Regions from separate parts of the Homo sapiens genome. Here region 2 is linked to region 1. Evidence: promoter capture Hi-C in human tissues and cell types (Jung and others, 2019). All regions are on one chromosome and are shown on one strand. The core of a region is centred on a gene start or on the middle of the fragment in contact, and the rest is flanking DNA. Distances in the headings are between cores, read along the strand shown.

The links. The method cuts DNA at HindIII sites, captures the fragments that hold promoters and counts their contacts. A contact is called where the count stands out against the background at its distance.
Region 2: a contact is called between the fragment with the promoter of TAOK1 here and the fragment with the promoter of RAB34 in region 1, in 1 of the 25 tissues and cell types used here (hippocampus).

Annotation. Positions count from the first base shown.
Region 1 is chr17:28,716,588-28,722,137 of GRCh38, forward strand. RAB34 (RAB34, member RAS oncogene family) reads right to left here and starts at 1,281. Exons shown (of 10, transcript NM_031934.6): 1 at 626-1,281; 2 at 316-407. The coding sequence starts at 679. RPL23A (ribosomal protein L23a) reads left to right here and starts at 3,398. Exons shown (of 5, transcript NM_000984.6): 1 at 3,398-3,443; 2 at 4,120-4,303. The coding sequence starts at 3,419. SNORD42B (small nucleolar RNA, C/D box 42B) reads left to right here and starts at 3,963; the gene lies at 3,963-4,029. RefSeq lists a silencer at 1,114-1,373 and enhancers at 2,054-2,654, 2,655-3,256, 2,913-2,962, 3,393-3,612, 3,953-4,112. The HindIII fragment of the contact is 4,543 bases long and covers 1-4,116 here.
Region 2 is chr17:29,387,000-29,392,911 of GRCh38, forward strand. It overlaps TAOK1 (TAO kinase 1), which reads left to right and starts at 3,364. Exons shown (of 20, transcript NM_020791.4): 1 at 3,364-4,025. MIR4523 (microRNA 4523) reads left to right here and starts at 3,663; the gene lies at 3,663-3,731. It also overlaps the pseudogene RNU4-34P. RefSeq lists enhancers at 2,920-3,159, 3,280-3,369, 4,530-4,769 and a silencer at 3,410-3,879. The HindIII fragment of the contact is 18,861 bases long and covers 1-5,912 here.

The sequences.
Region 1 (5,550 bases), core at 31-2,530:
AGCACAGCCAGACCCCTGCCCTGGGGCTCCATGGATGCTATGTGGGGATCTGAGCAGGTGACCACCTTCCCATTTCAGACACCTTAGTCTCTACTCAGAAATCCAGCTGCCACCCTTCTACCCAACCCCATCTCATAGAACTCACAACAACCTTGTTGGGAGAAAAGGAGGGGATACAGGGGCTTAAAGAGGGGGAAATAACCATATAGCTGGTAGGGGCTGAAATGAAGCCCCAAGGGGGTGGTTGTTTACCCTCGCTATGACTACAGAGTTTCCTGGGACCTCCTCTCTTTGTTGTGGGTGTCCCTAACTCACCCCACGGTGCCTGTCCGGTGCTCCTGGCAGGCGCAGGTGACGCGGGGGTGGAAGTCTTTGTGCCCGTGCAAAGCGGCCTCCTTCCTCAGGCACTTAGTGGGAAGGATGGAAGAGAATGGAGCTTCCTACTCCTGGCCCTTGTCCCGCAGCCAAGCGGCCCGGGTAGGGGTGGAGTGCAGGGACCACCCAGAAGCACCAGGCCTAGCTGGGTGGCAGGGCTGGGCCCAGTCCTCTAACTGGTCTGGTGCCGCCTCCTCCTCGCCCACACCCCGGGCTGTAGACTGAAGCCCGACGTGGCCCCGGCGCCTACCTGGGGCAGCTCCGCCAGGACGCGATCCCTCCGCACGGGTGCCAGAATGTTCATCCTGCCTGCGGCCTTGCAGGGCGCCCTGAGAAGGCGCCGAGGCCGGATCCGCGTCAGCGACCCGGGCGCGTGGAGACCCGACGATCACCCGCGGCCGGGGTGTCCCGACTACAACTCGGGGCCACGGGGACCCTACGGGAGTCCGCGGTCTCGGAGACGCTACGACCACCGCGGGCCACGGAGATGAAACAATCACCCGGGGCCGCGGCGAGCCCAAAATCACCCGGGCCCTGGGCGTCCCGAAGATGACTCTGGGGCGAGGAGACTCTTCGGCCGCCAATTGGGGGCGGGGAGTCCCGTCTGGTGGGGGCCGGGCCCGCGCAGACCCTACGATTACGCGGGGCCGGATAGTTCCTACGATTACGCGGGGCCGGATGGTTCCTACAATAACCCGGGGCCGCGGAGACCCGACGTCATCTCGGGGCTGAGGCTGCCCTACCATTACAGAGCGGCCCGGGGGCGCGGAGCGGCCCCGCCACACGGGGTCAGTGTGGGCAGGGGCGGCGCTGCCAAGGCCCGCAGGCCGCTGGAGGAGGGGGCGAGGGGCCCAGTCCGGCTACAGGGCCTCGAGTCCCACTCCGCTCGGGCTCCGCCAACGCTGTAACACGATCCCCGGAAATTCCTGGAGAAGGGCCGCCCCCCGCCCCTCTCCTGGCGGCTCCAGGCCTCGCTGCCCGCCCTCGCCACCCCCTCCTCTCCACCCTTCTGCGTTGCCCCGCTCAGGCTCCCTCTTTTGACGCTTCACCGGGCACCAGGACCGCCCCGACCCAGGCTGGAGCCTATCCAGATAGGGACTCCCCAGGCTGCTCTCCCCTGCACCTCTATACCCGGCTGCGCCTTCATGGGGACCCTTACCCAGCCGAATTGGTGATGGGGAATCGGAGACTGCTGCGCAGCATCTGGCGATGCCAGGAACCAGCAGGGAGGGGAAAGGGGGAGAGAAGGGGCCCAAGGAGAGGCGGCGCTTCCCTCCTCAACTCCAGGCCTGGGAGGTGACTCATAGAGTCTGCCCCCTCTCGCCCTTCTGCCCTGGGAGGTCGGGGGTGAGGATGGTGGAGGGGAAGCGTGCGAAGGGGGTGCCAGGGTTAGAATGAGGTGCCCACCGAGGAGAGAGACGTCTGAAGTCTGGCGTCTTTTCCTTCAAGGCTGCTGTGTAGATTGTGAGGTGGGAGGGCTGAAGATCAAGTTCCCTCGAGGGAGGTTAAAGAAGGGCTAAGTGGACCCGGAAACTCTGCTCTTCGGGGTGGTCTCCGCTCTGGGAGGCGGGGACTCCCCTCTGGTATGGGTGTTCATTGTTCTGGCCCCATTGGAATCTATCCCCCAGGGACAACTCCTTTGTGCAAAGTCCTGCAGGATAGAAGAGGGGGCAGTGCACAATCAATTTCACCGTCAAAGGGGACATGTCTGGTTTTATGAAGGGAGAGGGAAGAAGAAAGGATCAAGTGGGGATGGGTTAGGCACACACCTTAGGAGAAGCGAACCTGAGTGTTAAGAAACCTTTCTCTGTGTCTGGAGCTGAATTTGAGGATGTAAAGATGACCAGGACACGGAAGGGAAGACTAGTTTAGGGCAGGGGATTGTGAGTGAAGTTACTAACCGGAAAAACTAGCGAATCTTGGAGAAATGTGTGGAATTTTCATAGAACTTCAAATGCATTATCAGGAAACGCAGTAAAACTTGACAGTATCAGTGTCGCAGGTAAAGAGGGGCAGGTGTGGCCGCCTTGTACTTCCTCTGACACTTCCCCCTCGTGACTCGATTATTTATTTATTTATTTATTTATTTATTTTGAGACAGGGTCTCACTCTGCCACCCAGGCTGGAATGGCTCATTGCAGCCTCGACCTCCAGGGCTGAAGCGATCCTCCCACCTCAGCCTCCCAAGGAACTGGGACTACAGGCACGCACCACCACGCCCGGCTAATTTTTGTATTCTTTTGTAGAGACAGGGTTTCGCCGTGTTGCCCAGGGTGGTCTCGAACTCCTGGGCTCGAAGCAATTCGTCCACCTCGGCCTCACAAAGTGCTGGGATTACAGGCGTGAGTCACCGCGCCCGGCCCTGACTTGATTTTTTTCTGCCACCAAATCACTGTGTTATTGATAAACCACATTCCTCTCTGGACCTCAGTTCGACCGAGCAAATCCTGCTCCAGCACTCTAGAACTTAGCTGTATCTAACTCCCGAGTCAATCCAAATGTGTTCTTTCCTCTTGGCAGCGTTCCTGCCTCCTGGCATGGCAATCCTCTTCCCTGAGACTGGCAGTTGCTCAAGATAGGAAGCTCCCGGGACCAGACCCGAGCGCCAGCCGGCTACGCCGTCCGCTGGCCTGAGCAAATAAACGCGTGTCTTCAAAAAACTACAATCCCCATGGTGGCACGCGCCTGTAGTCCCAGCTACTCTGGTGGCTGAGGCAGGAGAATGGCGTAAACCCGGGAGGCGGAGCTTACAGTGAGCCGAGATCGCGCCACTGCACTCCAGCCTGGGCGACAGAGCGCTCAAAAAAAAAACAAAAAACAAAAAACAAAAAACTACAACCCCCATGAAGCTTTAGTGCCTTTGAGGGGAGGAGTGGCGCATGTTTGTTCACGCACGAAAAAGAAATTAAACCTAACTACCGTTCCCAGAGGGCGCCGCTCTGCAAATTACCCAATCAGCTCTAAGTACAAAGCATCGCGAGTCTTTAGTGCTCTTTGGCGCTATAAGCCCGTGGGAACGAGCATTGGAGACCCTTTTCACAAGATGGCGCCGAAAGCGAAGAAGGAAGGTGTGTGTTGGTGATGGGGCCGCAGCTGGTTTACCGGGGATTGCCGCGCCGCAGAGCGAACGAATTGGGAACACGGCTGCTGGGCTAAGCCCTGAGGGCTCTGCTCCGGGGCTGCTCCCTGCGTTTCGGACACGCTGCAGTATACGTGGGCCGCGTGGGCCCAGCCTCGTGGGCTGAGTTCCGGTAGAGGGAGTTGGGGGGGGGCAACGCGGCAGGCATCATCCGCCAGGGAGGGCCAGACATTCGGTTCTGGGAAGCTACATGCATCCACTGGTTGGAGCTCCATGTCCCCGGGCCTGTAAGGAATTAGTGCCCTCAGCTTTAACCATTTTCCTTCTGGTTCATGTTCAACCGGGCTACATTACCCGCCCCTCTCTCCGCAGCGTGGTTTTGCGATGGGGTATGTGTAAAATTCGTAGGACATTTTCTGGAAAGTATCAAGCGTTCATTCAGTGCTACTTTGTTTCATAGTCGTATCCCTGGAGTTACTTAGAGTTGGTCGCTTTCGCCTCTGGTATCGTGCATATGATGGAAAAGTTTTAATCTCCTGACACTTGTGATGTCTTCAAAGGAACCACTGATGCACCTGTGGCCAGGGTGGCCCACTGCAGTTCTTGGGGCCGGAAGTGACCGATTTCTAAATCCCGCACCCACGTTTTCTTTCCTTTTCTCCCAGCTCCTGCCCCTCCTAAAGCTGAAGCCAAAGCGAAGGCTTTAAAGGCCAAGAAGGCAGTGTTGAAAGGTGTCCACAGCCACAAAAAGAAGAAGATCCGCACGTCACCCACCTTCCGGCGGCCGAAGACACTGCGACTCCGGAGACAGCCCAAATATCCTCGGAAGAGCGCTCCCAGGAGAAACAAGTCAGTACTGCCCCCTGTACCCATGAAAAGATTTGGGTATTCTCCATTGGTAATTTGGAAATTCACTCACTCTGCGTGATGGTTTCTCAAACGCAAATTGTGTCCAGTGTGCTTCTCTAATTGGAAGTATGAGGAGATTGTTTCTGCTGCATTTACAAAACTGGCAGGATCAGCCCAGAGGCCGGGCGCGGTGGCTCACGTCTGTAATCCCAGCACTTTGGGAGGCCGAGGGGGGGCGGATCACTTGAGGTCAGGGGTTCGAGACCAGCCTGAGTGACATGGAGAAACCCCGCGTCTATTAAAAATAGAAAATTCGCCGGGCATGGTGGCGCATGTCTGTAATCCCAGCTACTCGCGGGAGGCTGAGGCAGGAGAATCGCTTGAACCCGGGAGGTGGAGGTTGCGGTGAGCGGAGATCGTACCATTGCATTCCAGCCTGGGCAATAAGAGTGAAACTCTGTCTCAAAAAAAAAAAAACCCTGAGTCTCTCAAAATTTGTTAGGTTAATTATTGCTTCACATGTGGTCACGGTTTGAAAACTTATTTTGGGGGGAGTATAAAGTAGAATACAGAGATTCCTTGCTCATAGCTCCTACTGCTATCGGGAACAATCCTTGAGGGTGAGAACGTGGATTGATTCTTGATTGATAGTGGGGATTCCATTATCTGTATTTGGCAGTTATGGCCTGCTGCGGTGTATAGAAGCTTCTTTCCATTCATTTTCCCGAATTTTCATACTGCTCAAGGAACAGTTGGGGGGGAATGGGCAGAAGGTTGGGCACTTGAGTATTTGAGCTATCGGTAATAACTGACTTTTTAGGGAGCACAGATTTGAGTAGAGCCATGGTAGTAGTTAGTACCAATGGGTTTTTGCTGCTTCTACTCTTTCTTAACAGAAAAAGTGGATTGTGTTCATATAGGAAAGCAGTTCACAGACTGTCTTCCTGCCCCTCCCGCCACCAAGCTGGACCTAGAATCAAGTGTGACTTTAAATGGGGAAAGCTGTGTTACAGTTGTGCTTAAGCCACTGCTGTGGCTTAACCTCACCTATGCATAAGAATTTGCTCGTGGCTGGCCGGGCGCGGTGGCTCGAGCCTGTAATCCCAGCACTTTGGGAGGCTGAGGCGGGCGGATCACGAGGTCAGGAGATTGAGACCATCGTGGCTAACACGGTGAAACCCCGTCTCTACTAAAAATACAAAAAAAATTAGCCGGGCGTGGTGGCAGGCGCCGCTAGTCCCACTACT
Region 2 (5,912 bases), core at 2,114-4,613, 670 kb after region 1:
ATGTGTGTACACCTTTTCCTAGAGTTCTCTGTCACACTAACATTTGCAGCAGCTATTCTTCCATACACTCCAGGCAAACAGCTTTCATTCACTCACTCTTCTTGACATCTCCCACACCTAACCCAATTTCTGACACATAGGAGAAAATGTCTGCAGAATTATTGAACTGATAGCAAACATTTGTTGAATGTCATTATGTACATTATGCTAAGTTTGTGGACATAGATATAAATAAGACAAATATTCATATGCTTGTGAAGATCACAGCCTGGTGGGAAAGGCCAAAAAATAAACAGTTCTGTGTGAGGACTATTTGGTTGCAAACAAAAGAGAACCAGACCCAACGTTAGCTTAAGAAAAATGGGAATGTTTTAGCACACAAATGCTAAAAACTCCAGGGTCAGGACTGACTTCAGACAGAGTTAGTTCCAGGGCTTCAGTGATCTGGTTTTATCTCCAGAATGTGTTTCCCACTGAGTTGCCTTTGTTCTGGGGCTTCACAGCAAAAGGCAATAGCAATTCCAGTCCTTACATTCTCTCAAGGAAATAGAATGTAGTGGCTCTGAGAACTGCTTGAACCCGGGAGGTGGAGGTTGCAGTGAGCTGAGATCGTGACACTGCACTCCAGCCTGGGCAACAGAGCGAGACTCCGTCCCAAAAAAAAAAAAAAAAAAGAATATAGACCGAGCACAGTGGCTCAGCTTGTAATCCCATCACTTTGGGAGGCCAAGGCGGGTGAATCACGAGATCAGGGGTTCGAGACCAGCCTGGCCAATATGGTGAACCCCCCCCCGTCTCTACTAAAAATACAAAAATTAGCCGGGCGCAGTGACACGCGCCTGTAGTCCCAGCTATTCAGGAGGCTGAGGTAGAAGAATTGCTTGAACCCGGGAGGCAGAGATTGCAGTGAGCTGAGATCGCGCCATGGCACTCCAGCCTGGGCGACAGAGTGAGACTCTGTCTCAAAAAAAAGAAAAAAAGAAAAAAAAGAACACAGTGGTTCTGGATGAAAGCTGAGTTTGACAACTGGCTTCACCACAAACTGGCTATAAGAACTTTGACAAGTTAATCAAAATTCTTCTCTGTGCCTCAGTGCCACTCTTTCTTTCTTTCTCTCTCTCTCTCTTTCTTTCTTTTTGACAGAGTCTCGTTCTGTTGGCCAGGCTGGAGTGCAGTGGCACAATCTCCTCTCACTGCAACCTCTGTCTCCTGGGCTCAAGCAATTCTCTTGCCTCAGCCTCCTGAGTAGCTGGGATTACAGGCGTGTACCACCATGCCCGGCTAATTTTTTTCACGATGTTGGCCAGGCTGGTCTCGAACTCCTGACCTCAGGTAATCTGCCCACCTCAGCCTCCCAAAGTGCTGGGATTACAGGCATGAGCCACCGTGCCAGGCCCAGTTCCACCATTTCTAAAAGGGAATAATAATTATACCCACCCAATATGGTTATTGTGAGGAGTAAATAAGTAGAGTGTTTAGAACTCTCTCTGGCATATAATCAGCACTCAATACGTGTTAACTATTTCACTATTTTTGTTATCATCATCATCAAATTTCAGAAACTTTGTGCAGTGGCAGTATTGTAGCCAATGAGATTTATCCGAGGTGTGATTATTGCTCATTGAAAAATCATAGGCTGGGCACGGTGGCTCACATCTGTAATCTTAGTACTTTGGGAGGCCGAAGCAGGTGGATCCTTTGAGGCCAGGAGTTCAAGACCAGCCTGGGCAACATGGCGAAACCCATCTCTACAAAAAATACAAAACTTAGCCAGCACGGTGGCATATGCCTGTAGTTCCGGTTACTTGGGAGACTGAGGTAGCAGAATCATTTGATCCTGGGAGGCAGAGGTTGCAGTGAGCCAGGATCACACCACTGGATTCCATTTTGGGAGTTCAATATATATATTACATTTTTGGGAGAAAATAAGAAAGTTTCTTTCCCAAAAAGCCAGAGAAAATCTTATTGTACCCATTGGCTCTAATTGGATCATGTGCCCATCCCTGAGCCAGACTAGAGGAAGGTCATACATACACTGTATACACGGATTGCTTAGGTCTGATCAACATGCTCCTTCCTTGGAGCACAGATCTACTATGGCCAGCCTGGTCTCGAACTCCTGACCTCAGGTGATCCGCCCGTCTCAGCCTCCCAAAGTGCTATAATTACAGGCGTGAGCCACCGGGCCCGGCCCAGAGTTAATTTTTATTCATGAAACTCATATAACAGGTTTATTTATTTCAGTCGTTTTGTTGGTTAAAGAACCAAGATTTTTTATGACTACACTTTGTGTACACTTTTAGGTTCTCTCTTTTTTTTTTTTTTTTTTGAGACGAGTCTCATTCTGTCGCCCAGGCTGGAGTGCAGTGGCGCAATCTCGGCTCACTGCAACCTCCGCCTCCCGGGTTCACGCCATTCTCCTGCCTCAGCCTCCCGAGTAGCTAGCTGGGACTACAGGCGCCCACCACCACGCCCGGCTAATTTTTTTCTATCTTTTAATAGAGACGGGGTTTCACCGTGTTAGCCAGGATGCTCTCGATCTCCTGACCTCGTGATCCGCCCGCCTCGGCCTCCCAAAGTGCTGGGATTACAGGCGTGAGCCACCGCGCCCGGCCTTACACTTTTAGGTTCTTGAATAAGTACTGAGGGAGTTTTCCCTAAAAAAAAAAAAAAAAGTTTTGAGATAAAAGAATAAAAACTCTACTTCTTCTTTGCATAGGAGTCTTTAGTTTGTTTGCTGCTCTTGTTCCAAAACTTCTCATTACTCAACCTACTAAACCCACAGACACTTTTCAAGAAGTTATCTCTTTTCTACATCACCAATATATAGGGTGGCTTAGATCTGTATTTCCAAGTCTTACTGTCGTTCCAAGAATTAGTATCAACTATTAGAATCTCAAAAACTCAACTGCATACTGATTGCGCTGCCCAGTGTACCTCTGAATCCCACGGGGGAGGGGGTGTAGAACCGAGTTGTGCAGGAATGGGATATTCCACACTTCAGGGCAAACTTATTCGCAGGATCAGTGGCGGGCTTTGGAGGTGGGAAGCAGGAAGGAAGGGGAATGCAGATAAACTCTTCTTCTTCAGATCTCCGGGGTGAAATGAATGCACCTGACGCCCGCGTGGCATTAGAAGCTCCGCGAACTCAGTGAGGCCATGCTGGACAGAGGCTGGAACTCCGGGCCACCGGGACAACTCTGCCCGTAGCAAGCCTTGCGCGCTCCTGTGAGGGCGCGCGCGCGCGCATGTAGTCGTGTCTCGCGCAGGGTCCGGCCTGTCAGGCGGAAAATCTCGCGAGATCGGAGACGGGGGATGACGGTCTGGAGGAGGGGAGTGGTGTCGGGTAAAGGGGGGGAAGCTGGGCAGCGGCCGGGCTCTGTGGCTTCAGGGCTCGGGGAGAGAGAGGGAGGGTGGCAAAGAGACTGAGTCGGTGCCGCCGCCTGCCTGAGGAGAGAGGAGGGGTCCCGCTCGCCCTGCGCCCTTCGCGGGCCGAAAGCACTAGGCACTCGCGAACATCTGAGGCCTCCCGGCCCCGGGGGACCCCGCCCCGCCGTCCGCCGGCCGGCCCGCGGCCTCTCTTCCCTTTGTGAGCGCCTCCTTACCAGGGGTGGTGTTGGTGGCGGAGGGCTGCGCGTGGGCCCGCCCGCCGAGGGGCCGCGGCGGGGGACCGAGAGGGCCTCGGCTGTGTGAGGACTAGAGGCGGCCGAGGCCCGGGCCGGTTCCCCCGAGGCGGCGACGGAGACGGCTCCCGGCACTTCCCCGCGCCATCTTAACTGAGCCCAAGCGCTGAGGGCGCCTCCTCGACCCCGGTCGTCCCCTCGCCCCCCCCCCCACCCCCCGCCGCCGCCGCCCCTTGTTGCAGAGCTTGGGCTGGGCGGCTTGCTGGGGCTCGGGGGTGGGGGGCGGCGATCTGTCGCCGGGCCCCCTCCTCCTCCTCACTCCTCACCCTCCAGGGTAGCGGCTACCGGAGCGCTGCAGGGGGCTGCGCCTGCCTGCTCCGCCCCAGACCTGTCGGCGAAAGGGTAAGGGCACCTCTGCTTTGGGAAAGGGGGATATAGAGGGGGGCGGGGAAATTCGGCCCACTCGGGCCTGTGTGTGGAAGAAGGGATGTGGGAGTGGGGTGGGGGAGGGAGAAAAGGAGGGTCTGTGATTCTGTGGGTGGGGTGAAGAAGCTGGTGAGCTGGGCGCCCTCCGGTTTTAAGGGGCGAGAGCAATTCCATTCCTTTTTCCTGAGGGTCACCGGAAGGGGTGGTGGAAGGGGGATGTTTCGAGGAAGGTGTGGCCCTCACAGGGAGACTGGGTTGATGTGCACCCCGGTTTAAAGGCGCGAGGTCCCCTTCCCCTCTGGTGCCTTTGCTCCTCTTCTCCTTTGTAGTGTCTGTGTATTCTTGGGAAGGGAGACTGCTCTGGGTGGCTTGCTGGGTGGATTCCACCCCCTAGCACAGGAAATCTATACCCCTCTTCTGTAGGGGCGATGGAAGCGTTTCTCTCCCCGTACCCTTCCCCCTTCCCCATCCTCTAGTCTACTGCAATGCTGCAGAAGTCCAAGGCAGTTTCTTCATACACAGACCCATGTATACACAGAAGGGAGGGGGAGCAGGAGAGGGAAGTAATGGCGCTTCCCTTGAAAAGGTTACTCTTTTTCCTTTGGTTTTAAATCGACGACAGTATCGTTTTAATACTCTTCCCCTGAGATCTGTCCATGGGAAGTGTATCTGTTCTGGTGTTATTGTTGGGGGATATGGCCTCTCGAGAGGGACACCTCTCCTGTTAGAACAGTTTTGATGTCTCTCTTTTTGAGAGATGTCTGGATTGACATTTTTTGTGAGCAGGTTGGATTTTAGTTAGAATTCAAATAAAATAATTTTGTACCTCCTCATCCTCATTTCCCTTTTCTTTTTCTATGACTTTTGTAGTTCATGAAGAATTATTGGCCTGGCGCGGTGGCTCACGCCTGTAATCCCAGCACTTTGGGAGGCCAAGGCGGGCGGATCACGAAGTCAGGAGATCGAGACCATCCTGGCTAACACGGTGAAACCCCGTCTCTGCTAAAAATACAAAAAATTAGCTGGGCATGGTGGCACGCGCCTGTAGTCCCAGCTACTCGGGAGGCTGAGGGAGGAGAATCGCTTGAACCCGGGAGGCGGAGGTTGCAGTGAGGCGAGATGGTGCCACTGCACTCCAACCTGGGCGACAGAGCGAGACTCCGTTTCAAAAAAAAAAATTATTAACAATTATTACATACAGACAGCCTGTCTGATTCAGGGCATTTCTCCCTAAGCTGTGAATTTTTAGGGTTGATACTGTTGTGTATAATATTGAAATTGGATTTTTTTTAAAATGGTAAGGTTACAAACCTTTCTGCAGCTGTTTCTTTGTTCTTATTAATCTGCCTAATTATTCTATGATCTATTTTCTGTAGTCAGTCATTTTTCACTTCTTTTGCTACCTGTCATGTTTGTCTGAAAGCAGATCATCTTATCTGGTTTACAGTAGTACTTGTTGGTTTTGTTCTTAGTTGAGTAGAAATAAAAATTTAAACATTCTGGAAATGTGCTGCCAAGTGCTTTTTGTGACCAAAGAGTAGTTTTCAAGTCTCCATGTACTGATGATACATTTTTTTCAAGTGTTTAGTAAATACTGGTGATGTGATTTCAAAATATTCCACATATGACTATTAATAGAATTAATTTTTTCCCAAAGTGAAGAAGAAGACTAAAATGTGTACAGATAATGAGTTGTCTTTGGTGTATTTAGTGTTTTCAGCTCTACTTAGTGACTTATTTTTAAATACTTCAAATGCCATCTACATTTTATGTTGTCATTAAATGTTGTCCAATAGAGCTTTTTTGGTGTGTTTGTTGCATTTTGAAACCTGTTTTAAGATAGGGATTTAAAGGTGTTAGTAG